Linked DNA regions of Homo sapiens: region 1 is linked to region 2. Evidence: promoter capture Hi-C in 16 types of primary human blood cells and fetal thymus (Javierre and others, 2016). All regions are on one chromosome and are shown on one strand. Each heading gives the region's core, a stretch centred on a gene start or on the middle of the fragment in contact. The rest is flanking DNA. Distances are from core to core; before and after follow the strand shown.

What was found. Contacts are between HindIII fragments. The CHiCAGO score rates a contact against its expected background, and 5 or more counts as called.
Region 1: a fragment that was not itself captured here is called in contact with the fragment with the promoter of CLASP1-AS1 in region 2 in 1 of 17 cell types (neutrophils); the score reaches 6.0 in neutrophils.

Annotation. Positions count from the first base shown.
Region 1 is chr2:121,816,894-121,822,958 of GRCh38, reverse strand. No RefSeq gene overlaps it. Among named protein-coding and RNA genes, the nearest start is that of LINC01823, 30 kb to the right of the region's middle. The HindIII fragment of the contact is 9,150 bases long and covers 1-6,065 here.
Region 2 is chr2:121,527,258-121,533,248 of GRCh38, reverse strand. CLASP1-AS1 (CLASP1 antisense RNA 1) reads right to left here and starts at 3,081. Exons shown (of 2, transcript XR_001739683.2): 1 at 2,474-3,081; 2 at 1-871. CLASP1 (cytoplasmic linker associated protein 1) reads left to right here. Exons shown (of 41, transcript NM_001395891.1): 3 at 2,924-3,002; 4 at 4,469-4,572; 5 at 5,359-5,450. It overlaps RNU4ATAC (RNA, U4atac small nuclear), which reads right to left and starts at 2,369; the gene lies at 2,240-2,369. RefSeq lists an enhancer at 2,692-2,821 and a silencer at 3,012-3,211. The HindIII fragment of the contact is 3,511 bases long and covers 305-3,815 here.

The DNA.
Region 1 (6,065 bases), core at 1,280-3,779, 290 kb before region 2:
AAAATCCTAGCAAGTGTTTTTGTGAAAATTGATGTTTATTCTAAAGTGTATATGGAATGAAAAGAGTCAAAAAATAATCAAAATAGTTTTGAGAAAGAGCAAAGTTGGAGGGCTCACACTACCAGATTATCAAGACCTTCTTAAGAAAGTTGTGACATTTAAGACAGTGTTGTATTGGCGCAAGGATAGACAAACAGACTAATCAGACAAAGGAGAAACCTCCACATACAGACACCTGATTTACAGCAATAATAGTGCTGCAGTGCAAAAATAAACCTTGACCCCTACCTCACACCATACCAAAAAAAGGCAATTCCAAATGAATTGTAGATCTACACGTGAATGGTAAAACAACATTTCTATGAAATAATATAGGAGAAAACCTTTATGACTTTAGGGTAGACAAGGATTTCATAAGGCCTTACATGTGATTGTAATTCTTTTAGAAAATGCAAAAATGTGTGATAAAAAGTTGGGCACAGATTATAGCTCACACTTATAATTCCAGCACTTTGGGAGGCCAAAGTGGGAGGATCACTTGAGGCCAAGAGTTCAAGACAAGTATGAGCAACATAGCAAGACCCTGTCTCTACTAAAAATAAAAATAAAAATTAGCTGGGTATGGTAGCACCCACCTGTAGTCCTGGCTACTCAGGGAGCTGAGGCAGGAGGATCACTTGAGCCCAGGAGTCCAGGGTTGCGGTGAGTTATAATCACACCACTGCACTCCAGCTGGGTGATAGAATGAGGCCCTGCTTCAAATAAATAAAATAAATAATAAAATGTGTGATAAAATAAATATACCCAATTTCCCTACCACTCAGAAATTAAAGAAAATACTTTTGAATGTTTTTGAAAAGCGGTTGCATCTTCCATCTCCCTCACCCAAACTAACAGTGGATTATCCATCATTTTATACTGTTCTCTTGCTTCATGAGTGAGTCTTTTCTCAAAAAAAAAAAAAAGGCCTGTAGGCTTCTAGACAGCAAAAGCTGAATCAGCACTAATACAGCCATAGGGACAAGGCTGTGGGCATCTCCTGGACAGAGCTACAGGCTGATCTTCTCACTTTACAGATGGGAAAGCAGAAGCCCCCAGGGCTACTTGACTTCGCTGGTAGAGGCAGGATGGTATCCAGAACCCTGATCACAGTGCTGTTTCCAACACATGTCCTCTTGTGGGGGATGGCTAGCAATGCTGCCCCTAAAACAGTGTTCTCGGTGCCTGCTGAGGTCACTGGCTCCACTCCTTCTGTCCCCTGGGGCATCTCAATACGTCACCAAGTGGTGGTGATGTCATCCACTGACTGGGTGATGCTCCTACCTCCACCAAGACTCAACCCTCCTGACACTAAGCCCAGTGGCATCAAGCCACACGGTTCCTTGGTGGTGTTTTCCAAAGTTTAAGGACAGCCAACTATTTCTCTTATGTGAGCAGCTTCCCACTGACGGTGAGAACTGAGTGAGAAACAGAGAGCTGCCTGAGTTTTTTCATTTTGTTTACAATTATTTGAAATCCAATGCTACAGGACACTGGGACAAACATAAATTAATTTTCCTTGATTGGAAGCTGATGAATCTCTTGTTGTGTTGAAAAGGACTCTGACAGCTCTGGGCTTCAGTGAAAAGAGAGCTATTGTTTTCTTAATTGGGGACTCATAGAACTTGTAGATGCAGCCAGGGCCAGCCTGAGGGGCAGAGGTGGCCCATCTGAGAGTGGGTTGTGAGATAGACCATTTATAAAACCATGGGCGACGGATCCCAGGAGGCTGCTGAATGGAATTATTCAAGAAGCATCACCATGTGTCCATTTTCTATCTGGTAAAGAGCTTGTTTTTCAGCTTGCATCCCTGTCAGGAGTTCACCCTTCCAGCCCATTGGAAAATATAATCTTCCCCAGTGTCCGCCATGTTGAACCCTGAGCGCACCCAGGAACAGAGGCGGCAGACTCAGGCAGAGATGCAGGGCTGTAGGGGATGAAAAAGAGTGGAAGCCACACCCAGGTAAAGGAACAAGTCCCCTCCTCTGTGAAGCATCCTCTGATCACCCTCAGCTACTGCAGTTCTCCCTCTCCTGGGATCCCACTGCCCGGTGGGGAACCCCAGCATAGCCAGTAGCTCCTTATATGGGAACAGTTGGCTTGAATGTGTCCTACATGACTGAGAGCTGCTTCATCTCTGAACCCAGGGACCCAGTACAGCAGAAAGAAAACATGGGTTTGGAGTAAAACAGCTGGAGGCTTCATACCAGCTCCATCACTTCTGCTCTGCAGTGCCTGGCAAGTTACATCGCCTTGTCACACCTTGGCACCCAGTGGTAGAATGGGTTTCACACTGGCACTGCCTTGTAGGTTGAAGTAAGTTAAAGGCCAAGTGTGGTGGCTCACGCCTGTAATCTCAGCACTTTGGGAGGCTGAGGCAGGAGGATCGCTTGAGCGCAGGAGTTCAAGACCAGCCTGAGCAACACTGGGAGACCCCGTCTCTACAACAACAATGACAACAACAACAAAACACTGTATTTTAAAAGCATCTAGCACAATGTCTGGTCCATAGCAAGCACTTAGTAAATGTTAGCAATTAATAATAGATGTTATTAGGAGTTCATTAATGTTTGTTTTTGTTGCTGCTGCCGCTACCTAACAGAAGCAATTAACAGAGCGTATCTGAAGAAGCAAAACTCCACGGAAATCAATACAGAGCACACTTAAAGAAATATTTGAGCAGCCCCAACACTATCCCAAATGGGGACTTGGTGCAAATTACAAAAAAGGTTCCCACAAGACACTTCCCTACCATCTGCCAAAATTGTAACAGTCACTCTCCTGATCTACAGTGTCTGCAATTTTCAAGCACCCCCTCACCCCACCCCACCAGGTGTGCAATGTGAAGCACAGCCAGCTGTAAATGACAGGAGGAAGTTCACAGTCAGGAAGCAAGAATCAGGGCCTCAGGGAGGGAAGGTGCAAGCCGGGTGGCCTGTAGCAGACCAGAGCGGCTCAGGCCCGCAGGAACACGGCTGGTGAACTGGAACACAGAAACGAGAGGGGAGTCAAGACGGGCCTCTTAGCCCCTGTCTAGGGATCAGTCCACCTCTTTGGAGAAGAGCTTGTATTTTTCAATTTGGGTTGTAACTTTGAGAGAGTAAGAAAAAAAGGCAACATGGGTTGATCAGCCTTGTATTAAGAATTTTCTTACCAAAGTAATTCAGGAATGGAAAATCAAATACTGTGTGTGTTCTCACTTATAAGTGGGAGCTAAGCTATAAGAATACAAAAATACACAGTGATAATGAACTGTGGGGCCTGAGCGGGAGGAGGCTGGGAGGGGGGTGAGGGATAGAAGACTAAATATTGGGTACAGTGTACACTTGCTCGGGTGATGGTTGCGCCAAGATCTCAGAATTTACTACTGAAGAACTCATCCATGTAACCAAAAACCACCTGTACCCCTAAAAGTACTGAAACTAAAAAATAAACAATGAAAAATATTCTTACTGAATAGTGTATGTACTTCTTTCCTTAGAAAAATAGAAGCAGAGAATTTCTAGTTCAGCAAAATGGTGAAGTAAGCTAACACAAAACCCTTCCACTACAAATACATAAAGATTTTAGATAAATCAATAGAAAAAGAAAACTATATTTTAATCAACTTTTTTTAAGTTTTCCCCTAATTAGAAACCCCATTCCTAAATGGTGCTGGAAAGGAAATATACCAAGGAGAGAGAAGTAACCACGCCAGAGGAGCAGGACCAGGAAACCTCTCTCCTGGTCTAATGAACAGAATGGCAAACACCACATGGTCACCAAGCCTTTTCTTTCTGTCTGCTACAGCCACATACCAAGCCCTCATTTTCTTTCTTTCTTTTTTCCAATGCCAAGTATAAACGGAACCCAATTTGCGTGAGCAAATGAGAATGGATTGAAACAGGTCATCTGTAAATTTCCCAAGCTGGTCCAGCAGTCATTCTGCAAACTTCCAACCTCCCCACCCTCTCAATGGATTGTGGCTTTAATGAACATTATTTCTGCCACTAGAGAGCCACATACAAAGTGGAGTTTAAAGGTCTTCCCGCCCCAAAACATCTCTACCACTAGATAATAGCAGTCTGAAATTTCTCCACCAAAGACTCATTGTTTGGGGTTAAGCATTTAAAAGGCAAAGGTTGAATGGAGGCAGGGGAGAGGCAGACCTGACCTTCCTGTGGGTTCTAGAAGAGCAGAAAGAGGAAGTTGCTGAAGGTGGCAGAAGGGCACAGAAGGCCCATTCTGCAGCTCTGGCCCTTGGCTGGGGCCTGGGGTACAGACACACTTTGGAAGCCCTTGAAACCTGAACTCCAGGGAGAGGGGTGTGAAGTCAAGGCCCAGAGTAAATCAGCAAAAGGAAAATTAAGAGGATCAATAAAAGAGTTTAATGAAACATAAACAGGTTCAGGGAGGGCTTAAATAAATTTCTGGTCCATCCACAGCAGGTTGTTAAGGAGCATCCCTGACTCTTAGAGGTTGATGTTGTGGAAAACAACCGTGTTCTCCTCCCAGGCATCCCTGTGGATGGTGCCTGAAGCTGAATTCCTGGCTGCAGAACCCAGGGCTGACCTGCAAAGGGGCAGGGGGTTTCTCTTGTCAATTTTTAATTGTGGGTCCAGAATGGGAGCCAGGAGGCTGACCCAAAAATCTTGGCACGCAGCACTTGTGATGGCTGGAGGAAACTGAGGATGCTGAAATGGGAGTGGCAGAGCCAGAAAGTCCATCTGAGCATGCCTGCGATTTGCAAGCCAGCTGCAGCCCCAGAGGCAGAGGGCACAGAGCACAGGGCACAGGGCACAGGGCAGATGGGCAGACACCAGCACCACTAGGACCTCACCCCTGCCCCCATGAATTTCCACTGCTCCCCACTCAGCTGCCCCTCCATAAGGACCCAGGAACATGGGGTCACAGCCATGTCACATGGGAGCCCCAGCAATCCAGGAAGGCTGACTCAGGCCCTCTCTCTGCCCCCAACACCATCTTTGCCCTGATGCAGGTGCTCCATGCCAGTGCAGAGAAGGGGTGCCTACAAGAAAGTCCACCCTGGAGAGAAGGGCTAACCCCTCTGCTACTCTCTTCCTCAAGCTACTGGACATTTGCCCTCCCAACCCCAATGGCACCAGGATTCCCAGGACTCTGCTGAAGGGGCAAGCCCAGACCCCCCACTCTGACTGCTGCTCACCTGCCTCCCTGGAACTCTTCTCCAGGGGGAAGGAAAGGGCTCCTGCCTGGCTAAAGCGCTTCTTCCATCAAATGTTTCACATTCCCTACAGCAGCAAACAAACCTCAATGAAAGACCTCATCTCTTCACCAAGGAGGAAGTCCTGTGATCTGAGGCCCCAGCATTGGGCTCTAAATATGGAGCCACAAAAAAGAAACTACTAAACACAGCCCTGTTACATTTCCCATAGTAAACTGTGCAGACCACCAAGGACAGCTCCATTGGTCTGTGTCTGTGTTTGTACCAGTACCATGCTGTTTTGGTTACTGTAGCCTTGTAGTATAGTTTGAAGTCAGATAATGTGATGTCTCCAGCTTTGTTCTTTTTGCTTAGGATTGCTTTGGCTATTCAAGCTCTTTTTGAGTTTCTAGTTTTTTCTAATTCTGTGAAAAATGACATTGGTAGTTTGATAGGAATAGCCTTGAGGGAAGAGGCAACACAGTAGAGAAAATGGCATTGAATCTGTAGATTGCTTTTCAGGCTTTTAATCTCTTCTCTCTACCAGCAGGATTCAAGCTGGGTTTCTATCCCCCCCTCACTTGAACATCCTAGCCTCTGCCACAGACACCTAGCACCCTTTCCTCATTTCTTAGTTCAAGTTCAAAATGAGAGAAAGAATCCGATTGCTCTAGCTCAGCAGGTTGTGCCAGGCGACAATCTGGGGCCACTCCTGGACCAGTCAGTTGTAGCAGAAGGGTCACATGACAAAACGCTTGACTCACCCACAGCCATCCGGGCTGGTGGCTCCCTGCACCTGGGGCGGGAGTGCCAGCTGGGTGATGATGGGCCTTCCCCCACGCAGGCAGAAGTGTCCTTAGGTTTA
Region 2 (5,991 bases), core at 1,832-4,331:
CTGGACCTCTCCTGTCCTATTTCTCTGGGGCTCAGGTGCATCTACCCACTCAGTCTTCTTCGGGAGTTTCCAGGCTCCCCAGTTCCTCTAGGCAACGCATTGAAACTTGACTGTCCGGGGCTTAGCGAGGCCTTCTCTGCTCAGACCTACCAAGTAAACTGCCATCCTGGAAAAGCTGACGTCAGCTTTCCCCCAAATAAACAATAGTCCTCTTTACCTTAGCCTTGAACGATGTATGAAGGGATGTTTCTGTCATGAATAACACCCCTACCTGCAACCAGTAATGCAACTGTGCAGATAAGCTTAAGATTTCACCAGACAAAAGCTAAATAACTCACTTAAGTGATGGGCTGTTCTTTTTAAAAAATAAACTTTTTTACAGAAAAATTACAAATATCTCATTATTATATCTAACATTAATGTGGTTTATTACAATTAATGAGCCAGTATTGATGTATTATTATTAACTAGAGTTCATGCTTTATTCATATTTCCTTAGTTTCTACCTAAGGAAAAATGTCATCTTTCTGTTGCACACTCTTTTCCAGGATACCTCATTACCTTTAGTTGTTATGTTTCCCTTGGCTCCTGTTGCTGTGACAGTTTCTCAGAGTTCTTGTTTTTGATGACCTGGACAGTTTTGAGGGGTACTGGTCAGGTGTTTTGTAGGATGCCCCTCTATTGGAATTTCTCTGATGTTTTCCTCATGTTTAGACTGAGCTTAAGGGTCTTGGGAAGGACTGTCACAGGCAAAATGCCGTTTTCATGACATCATATGACGTGTACTTGATGTTGACCTCCACCATCTGGCTGAGGTTGCGTCTGTCAGTTTTCTCCGCAGGATAGTTACTCCTCCACTTCATACTGTACTCTGGAAGGAAGTCATAGTGTGAAACCTAATCCCTTTTAGCTGGAAAGTAGAGTCATTATTTTAAAGTGTTTATACCATTATTATATTATTTAAAAAATCTGTTTACAAATTGTTCTCTTTATAAAAGTTTTAAAAATTATTTTCTTCAATATTGTCAAGTAGCCAGTTTCTTGCAAGAACATTTTATGTATTGTGGGGATTATTGGGCCAATTTAGATTCCTTCAGTTTTGAAGCAGTAGATTTCAAAGCTGAATAGAAAAGTCTGCAGTTTTTGCTTTTATCAGCCGCCAGAGGCAGGCAGGCACAGGCTGTATACAAGAAATCCTAACTGTTGCCCCGTCCTGTTTGGTTGTTGTGTGAACATTGGGCAGTGCCCGGCTTTGTGTTGGAAGCATGTTTAATGAAGTCTCACAGTGCAAAACTGCTTCATACGGAGGAAGGGTTTAATCTGACTATTGGACCATTCCACAAAAAGCTCACTATTTCACATTTCTTTTTCTTTTTTTTTTTGAGACCGAGTCTTGCTCTGTCGCCAGGCTGGAGTGCAGTGGCCCGATGTTGGCTCATTGCAACCTCCGCCTCCCAGGTTCAAGCGATTCTCCTGCCTCAGCCTCCCAAGTAGCTGGGACTACAGGCATGCGCCGCCACGCCCAGCTAATTTTTGTATTTTTAGTAGAGACGGGGTTTCACCATGTTGGCCAGGATGGTCTCTATCTCCTGAGCTCCTGATCCGCCCGCCTCGGCCTCCCCAAGTGCTGGGATTACTATTTTTTTTTTTTTTTTGAGATGGAGTCTCGCTGTCGCCCAGGCTGGAGTGCAGTGGCGCGATCTCTGCTCACTGCAGGCTCCACCCCCCCGGATTCACGCCATTCTCCTGCCTCAGCCTCCCGAGCAGCTGGGACTACAGGCGCCGGCCACCTCGCCCGGCTAATTTTTTGTATTTTTAGGAGAGACGGAGTTTCACTGTGTTAGCCAGGATGGTCTCGATCTCCTGACCTCGTGATCCGCCCCCCTCGGCCTCCCAAAGTGCTGGGATTGCAGGCGTGAGCCACCGCGCCCGACCTGGATTACATTTTATGTGAGGTGCAAAGACCTACTGAAACTTCGTCTCCTATTGAAACTTGACCTAGACTACTGGGCTGACTCAGCATAAGGAAGTTACAGAACAGTTGATGATCGGCGTAAAGTTAAAGGGGTGAAGTTCTGTTGAAATCCTTCCCGTTTAATCACCGCAAAAACTGAAAGAACTTTACTTGCGACACTAAAACCACGCGTCTTGTGCACCCTCTACTGGTTTAACCACAAAGTACTAGTTTATTTACGAATTACTGCTGTTTGAACTGATAAGTCTATGAAAACAGGTTTTCATTTTTCCAAAAATTGCACCAAAATAAAGCAAAAGCTCTAGTTGATGCGGGTGTGTTGTTCAGGCGTTAGCAGTACTGCCCTCACTATGCGCTCATTGGACAGTAGCGCAACCCCAAGAAAAGGATGGTTATAATAGAAAGTCCCTGGGCTGCAAGCAGGAAGCGCCAATACCTGGTAGGGTTGTGGTAATTAATTCGTGAGCCTCGCCCTAGTCGGTCTGGTAGCTAGCTTACCTCCAGCCTCCACAGCTTTCGACGACACCCCAATTCTTTGTTTTCTGAGGCTCCCGAAGGGTCGCAAAAGCGGCGGCTCGGTTTTACCCAGAAGACCGCGCGTCGGCCGCTCGAAAATTTGCATACGCTTTTCTCGCCGGGGCGGGGCTGGCGGGGGCGGGACCGCGGCGCGCTCTTGAACTCCACCCGCAGCTAACCCGGGTTTGGCTACGCTGTATTGCCTTTTATTTCGTTTCTCCTCACCGAGTATTTTCCATTATAGCTGTACATAGCTCTTTTTGTGGAAGATCATCCTTCTTCGTGCTAATCTCTTTGGTCCTCCAGTCGGCATGCGTCTGGACTCTCGGACTGCGTCTGGGCCGGAAATGTCTAGGCCTCCCCGGAGCGGGTGGGCGGGAGCGCTGCCCCGCAGGCCGGCTGCTAACAGGCTCCCGGTGTTTCCCGCTGCAGGTGGTTCTGCTGGGCATGGACATCCTGTCCGCCCTGGTGACCCGGCTGCAGGATCGGTTCAAGGCGCAGATCGGCACAGGTGAGCTGCGGCACTTGTGGAGCGGACCCGGCCCCTTCAGACCCCCAGCCTTCCCTCGGCCTCCCCGGCTCCCAAACCCTCCCGGCAGCCACCCTGCCTCCCCTCCAGCCCCCTCTCCCTCCCTTCCGCTCCTCCCAAACAGCCAGTCCCCGCCCTCCCCCGCAGCCCCCCTAAGCACTCGCAGCCTGGGTCGGCCGCCCCGCTGCCTTCCCTTCCAGCTGGACTCCCCTGGCCTCTGGGCCTGCGGGCGCCCTTACCCTCCCCCATACCTTTGTACTGGCTTCACTGTGTTCTCACACGGAACTTAGTAATACGTGTTCTAATATGAAATATTAGTGCCATTTTTATTTCTTATGCTAAATTAGCTGTCACTCTTTAGTGCCAACCAAGTCATATTTTACCCTGACCCCGGTCCCCTTTAATGAGAGGCAGTTTTCCTTGAGAAATCCTATAAAACCAAGCCAGTTGTATTTTTCTCCAGATGATTATGGTTGGCATGACTATTTTCACCTTGATTGTAAATGTCATTACAAATGTATAGTAAATGTTCACTCTTATTTTGAAGGGAAAACAGTATGTCAGCAAAATGAAACAAAACCCACAGATTTCATAGATTTAAATACCTCTAAATTCCTGACCTCCGGTGTTTCATGGGGGTAGTATAAACACTAAGCATCTCTATGCAACCATTTCCTTATGGAATTTCTCTGTTTTACGTTGGTACACATGTATTCTTTACTGTTAACTTTCCGACCAATATGCTCCTTCTGAAAAGGTCATGAGCACCGACTGTTTACAAATTTAAAAAAAGCTTTTACTTTTAGACATTTGATATTTTAATAGTGTTCCATTTTCCTCCTAAATTAGCTGAATTATTCAGGGATATCTCATGTAATAGAGGTTTACAAACTCTTAAAATAAGCTGATCTCTGGTCTACAGGTGCACTTGGACCACTGGTGGGAGGGTCCACCCTGGGTATGTCGGGGAAGATGGAGAGCTGGGCTCTGTCTCATGTGTGTATGGGCGTGATGTAAAACTAAAAATACACAATAGTGATGAAACTTAAGATTTATTCATAAGTGCCCACTCCTTCCACCCCCAAACACATATACTGGAGCCCCTCTCCTTGTGTTTTACCTAAATTTTCCTTTCTGTTGACTCTTCCTCTCAAGGTCTTCCATTTTTATCAGCTTACAAATACGTTGGGAACTGGCTGGAGGAACGTGGGGTAAGGAGGAAGACAAATAGTGTATCTGTCCATGCAAAGGATTTTGCAGACTCTTTTGGTGACTTTCATGGACTTCAGCAAGGAGAGTAGAGCTGTGAGCAAAGATGAGTGGTTTTAGAATGAGATACATCATTTAGGTCAGGGGTTTGTCTTCCCACATAATTGAGATAGGAATACTTGGTGACCACAGACCCCCAAATAGGGTTTCATTTGATCAGTTTCCATTTTGATTTTCAGTGCTGCCAAGTCTAATAGACAGACTAGGAGATGCTAAAGACTCTGTGAGGGAGCAGGACCAAACTCTGCTGCTAAAGATCATGGATCAAGCTGCTAATCCCCAGGTAGGGGCAAGAGATGTGTTTTGAGGTCAGCTGGCCAGTGCGCGTGCATGCACGTGCGAGGGTGTGTGTGTGTACTTGCACAAATGGTGTGACTCCATAGACTTAAGCTGATGTATTACAGATAAAAATTTTCACAGCATTCAATCTGTTTCCCCATGCAAGATATTTAAATAAGTCACAAAACTATGAGATGAGTAAATTAGTGGATTTAACATGGGGGTATTGAATCTAATATACTTAGTTTTAATCCATTAGACTCTTCAGCTCATTTATGTAACCGACTCTCCAATTCTCTGAAAAGAGGGAGCTGTGGTGTCTGGGGAGTCAGGAGGCCTGGCTGGAGCCCTGGCCCCTGTCTTCCGGTGAATTGGGGCTGCTGGGATGGACCAAAACAGCCCTGCTTTCCCAGCTTCTACTGTCCTTTATTGGGGGGTGATCAGAAAAAACAGAGGCCAGTGTGAGTGTGTGATCTTTGGCAACTCACTAGCTCCTTTGGCCTTGCTTTCCTCACCCATAAAATGAGGACAGTTATACCTCTCTTTCAGGGTTCTTGGGAGAATTAAATGCAATTATGTAAATGAATGTGTTTTAAAAATTGTAATTTGATATACTTGATAACATGATAGATGTCATCATTTTCCAGTATGCTCTCGAGAGGATTAAATGTGTTGGTAGAGGATGGGACTAATTTGGCGCTCGTTAAGAGGCTTGCCTTCTATTGCTCCCTTATAAAGTGTCAGCTGCAGCAGTCTTCTCCTTTCCTCACCTGTTCTTTGTCATCTGCAGTACGTATGGGACAGAATGCTTGGAGGCTTCAAACACAAGAATTTCCGTACTCGAGAAGGCATCTGTCTCTGCCTTATAGCAACACTCAATGCGTAAGTCTGGGATGAGCCTGACATTTTTACGTGGCTGAATTTTTTAAAACTTTTTATTTTGAAATAATTATAGATTTACAGGAAGTTGCAAAGAAGTGTAGTGTGAGATCTCATGCCCCCTTTACCCACCCTTGCCCAGTGTTAGCACCTTGAATAACTATAGTACAGCATCAGTACCAGGAAGTTGAGATGGATACAATCCCTAGAACTTGCGCAAATTTCTCAGGTAAAACCACATGTGCATTTGTGTGTATATACAACTGCACAGTCACTGCCGGGCTCCTTCATGCTGCTGTGTGTAGCTGCACCCTGACCCCTGGCAACCATGAATGTATTTGAATTTCCAGGAATCTGTTCTCCCTCCCTATGATTTTGTCATTTCAAGAATGTTATGTAAATGGAATTATACAATATGTAACCTTTTGAGTTTATCTTTTTTTCACTCAGCATAATGCCCTTGAGTTTGCACCTGACATTTGATAGTTCATTTTATTGCTAAATAGAATTCCTTGGTATAGATGTGTCACAGTTGGTTAAACTA